2 separate regions of the Homo sapiens genome follow, and region 2 is linked to region 1. The links are contacts of gene promoters, found by promoter capture Hi-C in human tissues and cell types (Jung and others, 2019). All regions are on one chromosome and are shown on one strand. The core of a region is centred on a gene start or on the middle of the fragment in contact, and the rest is flanking DNA. Distances in the headings are between cores, read along the strand shown. Region 1 holds the start of VPS29 (VPS29 retromer complex component). Region 2 overlaps ATP2A2 (ATPase sarcoplasmic/endoplasmic reticulum Ca2+ transporting 2).

Evidence for each region. The method cuts DNA at HindIII sites, captures the fragments that hold promoters and counts their contacts. A contact is called where the count stands out against the background at its distance.
Region 2: a fragment that was not itself captured here is called in contact with the fragment with the promoter of VPS29 in region 1 in 1 of the 25 tissues and cell types used here (hippocampus).

The regions. Positions count from the first base shown.
Region 1 is chr12:110,500,379-110,503,635 of GRCh38, forward strand. It overlaps VPS29 (VPS29 retromer complex component), which reads right to left and starts at 1,733. Exons shown (of 4, transcript NM_016226.5): 1 at 1,671-1,733. The coding sequence starts at 1,673. RAD9B (RAD9 checkpoint clamp component B) reads left to right here and starts at 1,953. Exons shown (of 11, transcript NM_001286535.2): 1 at 1,953-2,005. The coding sequence starts at 1,960. RefSeq lists an enhancer at 1,562-1,701. The HindIII fragment of the contact is 3,487 bases long and covers 1-2,778 here.
Region 2 is chr12:110,289,946-110,293,202 of GRCh38, forward strand. It overlaps ATP2A2 (ATPase sarcoplasmic/endoplasmic reticulum Ca2+ transporting 2), which reads left to right. Exons shown (of 20, transcript NM_170665.4): 4 at 2,075-2,179. Among named protein-coding and RNA genes, the nearest start is that of ATP2A2, 10 kb to the left of the region's middle. The HindIII fragment of the contact is 6,416 bases long and covers 1-3,257 here.

The sequences.
Region 1 (3,257 bases), core at 483-2,982:
ACAACTTGAGAAACATTAATATTTTGAAACCATGGCAAGTAATTATGTCTTCTCCCATGGATAGGTGTCTCGAAATTACTGTAAACGGATTACTTTAAATTGGAGTCTGTTTAGAAGCAAAAATTAAAAGTGAGATTAAAGATTTTAAAGAAGCATGCACCATAAATCTCTGGCTGCCATGTCTGTAAGTCCCCCTCTTGAAAAGGCTGTTTGTCATGCAATAGTAATAATCTTAAAAATGCATAGCTTCTTTGGTTTCCTTGTAAAAATAAAAAAGAATGCAATAAATGCCTGTCAGAGGTAGACGTCCCTTTACAGCCAACCTCCATCAACACAAATATGAAGATAATCACAGCTCCATTTCAAACAATTGATTTTTTTTTTTTTTTTGAGCAGCAGCAAGATTTATTGTGAAGAGCGAAAGAACAAAGCTTACACAGGGTGGAAGGGGACCCGAGTGGGTTGCCCCAAACAATTGACTTTTTAAGAGTCAAAGGCACCTTTGAAAATATGATTACAGGCCGGGCGCGGTGGCTCACGCCTGTAACCCCAGCACTTTGGGAGGCCGAGGCGGGTGGATCATCTGAGGTCGGGAGGTAGAGACCAGCCTGACCAACATGGTGAAACCCCGTCTCTACTAAAAATACAAAAATTTAGACGGGCTTGGTGGCGGGCGCCTGTAATCCCAGCTACTCGGGAGGCTGAGGCAGGAGCTGAGGCTTGAACCCGGGCGGCATTGCAGTGAGCCGAGATCGCGGCATTGCACTCCAGCCTGGGCGACAGAGCGAGACTCCATCTCAAAAAGAAAGAAAGAAAATATGATTACAGCTCTGAGTCCTCTCTAGTAGAGGCCCCCAGTTTTTATGTAGGAAGGTCTGAGGGGCACCAAACTACTGGGGGTGAAGGGGTGATTGCTTGAAGGTGGCTGGGGGAGACTAGGTAAGTCTCCAACACCGGCACTCTCCCCAGAAAAATGTGTATATTCACAAAAATTTCCCAACAGTTTCAATGAGTTCACACATCATTAAGGAATCCTACCCTAAAGAGGCGTAGCAACCCGTGGAAAGAAACAGTTCCAGCAATTGCAAGCGCCAAATCCCGCCCTCTGAGAGCACACCTGCTCATCTCAATGGCAGCTAGATGTTATTTCAGGAGCGAGGAGGGTGGTTTATTCCCTTTCCCTAGATGGCAAAGTTAAACGGGTACGAAATTCTGCTCGCTACTTCCTGTTCTGCATTCGAGAGGCCAGCTTCCACCACTACACCCCAACCAGCGGGAGGTGCTTTTTGCGGGAAACGAGTAGGAACCGTCTGGAAACGGAGGACCGTGCCCCTATCCCCGGAACATTCGAGGTATAGGACCAAAGGCCTTCCCTGGCTCGGGCGTGCGTGTCTCGTGACAGGTCGGGCTGCTAGAGGGGCCTTTTTACCCCTTGGATGGCCTCTGGCCCCTTGGGGCCGGGATACGAGACCTAGGCCAGCCGCACCCAGAGGTGGCCGCTCCCTTCCTTCCCTAGACCTCTTCTGGGCCTTTCCCAGGCCAGCGCCTGGGCCCTGACGCCGAGGCCTCCGGGATTTCCCAATTCCTCGCCCTCGGCCTCCCCACGGCTCCCAACAACGCAGCACCCCACCCGAGAGCCAGGCCTTGGTCGCCGCAACTGCAGCCCTCACCATCCTGTCACCGGGCTCCGCTCAGTCACCACCACCGTCGCCGCCCTCTTCCTCAGGCTCCTCGGCGACCCGCCCACTTAACCGCAACCAATGAGAGCAGAGGGAGACAGAAATTGCCGTACGGAGGCCCGCACGGACCCTTCTCCGCCGTAAAGCCGTTTGGGAACTTGTGGAGGCGGGGTGGTAGAGTGCAGAGACGAGATCGCGAAGCTTTGAAAAGCGCGGGCAACATCCGGGCACCTGGGCCGTCGAGCTGAGGCGCGCCTTCCGAGCCTGCTTTTTAGGGCGGATGGCAGCCATGCTGAAGTGCGTGATGAGCGGCAGTCAGGTGAAAGGTGGAGCGGCCTTTGTTGTCTTCCCATTTAGCAGAGAGAAAAGCAGACGTTAATAGGTCGTCCCTACCATTGTCTAATTTTTCCTCTTTGCCTTTTTGCGCAATGACTGAGGACGCACGCCCTGGCCACAGCCCCACCCACTCAAGTCCCTGTTAACTTCTGAGGGGAGGATGAGGACCCATCTCGTGTGACTTAGAGGCAGATGTAATATGGGTGGTATCCGGGAAATAGAGTTGTACCATCGGGCCACAAACTCGGGATGCTGAGGACTGCATGGGGAAGAGTTGAGAGAAAAAAATAATGCTTGGACAGTAAAAGTATTTTTGTGCCAAGAGAACAGCATTAACCTGGTTTTTTTTTTCCCCAGATTCTACCATTTTTAAAAATGTATGAACTTGGAAAAGTCACTAAATCTCTTTGGGGCTCAGTTTCTAAAACGGAAACAGGGGTAATGACAGCACCTTCGTCACAGAGTTTGTTTGGAGGCAATGAAATGGAAATGCGTGTAAAGAGCCCAGTAATAGATGGAATGTACAAGAACTATTAGTGTTGTAAACGGCGCTTTCAAAATGGAAGTTAGGCCGGGTGCAGTGGCTCACGCCTGTAATCCTAGCACTTTGGGAGGCCAAGGCGGGTGGATCACCTTAGGTCGGGAGTTCGAGACCACCCTGACCAACATGATGAAACCCCGTCTCTACTAAACATACAAAAATTAGCCGGGCTTAGTGGTGGGCGCCTGTAATCCCAAGCTACTTGGAAGGCTGAGGCGAGAGGATCGATTGAGCCCGGGAGGTTGAGGCTGCAGTGAGTTGAGCTCGTGCCACTGCACTCCAGCCTGAGTGTCAGAGTGAGACTCTGTCTCAAAAAAAATAAAAAATAAAAAGAACATTAACAATGTCGTACGGGATCAGACTAGTGTGTTTTCCAGCCCTAAATGTGTTCTGTGGTGGGGAAATCTGGCTGCCCTCAAACATCAGAGATGTATGTTGGATACCCCTAATTTCTCTCTCATGACTTGTTGTGACTTGGCTATCAAGCTATTAAAACCACTTCAGATTATCTTCTCCATGCACTGTTTTCACAGTTTTTGGGGGGTCAAATACATTTATCTAAATCAAGTTGTAAAATACATTAGTATGGAAATTGGTTTGCACAGTAGCTCCATGCAACACTGTAAACATATAGAAGGACAAATTTCGGTCAATTTTATCATTTCACACACTACAAATTTATTGAGCCCTGACTATGTGTC
Region 2 (3,257 bases), core at 416-2,915, 210 kb before region 1:
TACTTTGTAGTTTTTAAATCTTAACAAGTTTATAGTTGTATGAGCTAAAAGTTTAAACCTCTGCCCCATTTTCTTGGGGCAGTGTTCTGTGACCAGTTACATTTTTGGACTTAGGTTATCTCTGAAGTGCTGTGTTGCTGTATAAATGTCATATGGAGGATAACCTACAAAATACACTTCGGATCTCCCAACAGCTTTGCGGTTCTGAAACAGCCTTCAGTAGTACCACTGAAAAGAAACGGGGAATTAACTGGTTTTTTGTTTCTTTTATAGAGATGAGGGTCTCGCTATGTTGCCCAGGCTGGTCTCAAGCTCCTGGCATGAAATGATCCTCCTGCCTTGGCCTCCCAAAGTGCCGGGATTATAGGCATGAGCCACTGTTCCCGGCCTAGAATTAAACAGTTTATATATGCTCTAAAATTTAAGTCAGTGATCAAGTTGTTTATACTGTGGATTTATGTCACATGGATATTACTTGATATGAATAATAACTAAATGAACATGACTGTTAGATGATCACCTTTTACTTTAATCAAGAATTGAAGTTTTATTTTTTCTAAATAGATACATATAAAATGAATGGAATTTATTCCCTCTCCCCAGATTTTATTTGGATTCTAAAATGGAATTATTACATCAAAAGATAAGGTATTTTTAAGAAGTATAGTTGTTTTTTTGAGACTGAGTCTTGCTCTAACGCCCAGGCTGGTGTGCAGTGGTGCGATCTCAGCTCACTGCAACCTTTGCCTCCCAGGTTCAAGCGATTCTCCTGCCTCAGCTTCCCAACTAGCTAGGACTGCAGGTGTGCGCCACCACACCTGGCTAATTTTTTGTGTTTCTAGTAGAGGTGGTTTCACCTTGTTGGCCAGGGTGGTCTCGAATTCCTGACCTCAGGCGATCTACCTGTCTCGGCCTCCCAAAGTGCTGGGATTACAGACTTGAACCACCACACCCAGCCATGAAGTATAGTTTTTTGTTTGTTTTTTGAGTTTTGCTTTTGTTGCCCAGGCTGGAGTGCAATGGTGCGATCTTGGCTCACCGCAACCTCTGCCTCCCGGGTTCAAGCGATTCTCCTGCCTCAGCCTCCTGAGTAGCTGGGATTACAGGCATGCACCACCACACACTGCTAATTTTGTAATTTTAGTAGAGATAGGGTTTCTTCGTGTTGGTCAGGCTGGTCTCGAGCTCCAGACCTCAGGTGATCCCCCCGCCTTGGCCTCCCAAAGTGCTGGAATTACAGGCGTGAGCCATCGCACCCGGCTTTTTTTTTTGTTTTGAGACCGAGTCTTGCTCTGTTGCCCAGGCTGGAGTGCAGTGGCACGATCTCGGCTCACTGCCACCTCCGCCTCCTAGGTACAAGTGATTCTCTTGCCTCAGCCTCCCCAGTAGGTGGGATTACTGACACACATCACCATGCCCAGGTAATTTTTTTGTATTTTTAGTAGAGACGGGGTTTCGCCATGTCGGCCAGGCTGGTCTGGAACTCCTGACCTCAGGTGATCTGCCCGCCTCAGCCTCCCAAAGTGTTGGGATTACAGGTGTGAGCCACTGTGCCCAGCTGAAGTATAGTTTTGACTTTCAAGAATTCTTATGAACAAGACATAGCCAGTTGTTTATATAATTGCATTTTCTACCGTTTATTTCTAGAGAAAGAAAATAGATTTTGTCTATCATAATCCCTTTAGTGCTAGCCACTTTTTTTTTTTTTTTTTTTTGAGTTTTCGCTCTTGCTGCCCAGGCTGGAGTGCAATGGCATGCAGTACACTCACGGCTCACTGCAACCTTTGCCTCCCCAGGTTCAAGTGATTCTCTTGCCTCAGCCTCCTGAGTAGCTGGGATTACAGGCACCTACCACCATGTCCAGCTAATTTTTTGTATTTTTAGTAGAGATGGGGTTTCGCCATGTTGGGCAGGTTGGTCTGGAACTCTTGACCTCAGGTGATCGCCTGCCTTGGCCTCCCAAAGTGCTGGGATTACAGGCCTGAGCCACCATGCTCGGCCAGTGCTAGCCACTTTTTAAAAAAGTGACATTAAGCCTAAAAAGACACATTCTAACGTGCCATTTCTCTTCTAGGTTTTGGCTTGGTTTGAAGAAGGTGAAGAAACAATTACAGCCTTTGTAGAACCTTTTGTAATTTTACTCATATTAGTAGCCAATGCAATTGTGGGTGTATGGCAGGTAAGCAAAAATTCCTGTACTGCAAAATTTCAATAAGTTATGTAAGTGATTAGGGCTGTATTAATCTTTCTGTTATCTGTTTTTCCTGATGTGTTGAGTAAAAATATGTTTGCGGGAAGTTTACATGTATTTTCCCTTTATTCCATAAATTAATTGTTTTCTGACACAGTCTCACTCTGTTGCCCAGGCTGGAGTGCAATGGTGTTGTCTCGGCTCACTGCAACCTCTTCCTCCCAGGTTCAAGTGGTTCTCGTGCCTCAGCCTCCCAAGTAGCTGGGACTACAGGCACGCACCACCACGCCCAGCTCATTTTTGTATTTTTTGGTAAGAGACAGGGTTTCACCATGTTGGCCAGGCTGGTCTTGAGCTCCTGACCTCAAGTGATCCGCCCTCCTCAGCCTCCCAAAGTGCTGGGATTACAGACGTGAGCCACCATGCCCGGCCTATTAATTTAATTAATTGCAAATTTTTGACCTTAATGCATATAAACTTTGCAGTTAAGATTGCTCATTCTTCGCCAAGTGTGGTGGCACCAGCCTGTAGTCTCAGCTACTCAGGAGGCTGAGGTGGGAGGGTTGCTTGAACCCAGGAGGTCAAGACTGTAGTGAGCCATGATCGTAACACTGCACTCCAGTCTGGGCAAAGGAGCAACACTGTCTCAGAAAAACATTGTTCATTCTTTACGGTAGCAAGGAATTAAAATGGGTGAGAGAAGCTGCTTAAGGAAATGAGAATGTGAGAACCATTATCTTTATGTCTCCTAGTTGCTTCCTGTGACAAACTTTAAAAGCTACATGTCATTTTTATTCTCCTTGGGTTTTTTTGGTAGGTTTAGCTATAAAAATTGTTTCCCCTTCAGTGCTTACTACAGACTCTGAGACTTAAAATTCATGTTAAGTGTTGATCTTTTAGGTATTTGACGGATATAATCACCCCTTTGAGGACTGAAGTAGACCTTTTTTTTGTTTTTGTTTTGAGACCGACTCTCTGTCGCCCAGGCAGGAGTGCAGTGGCACGATCTCGGCTCACTGCAACCTCCGCCTCCCAGGTTCAAGCAGTTCTGCCTCAGCCTCCTTGA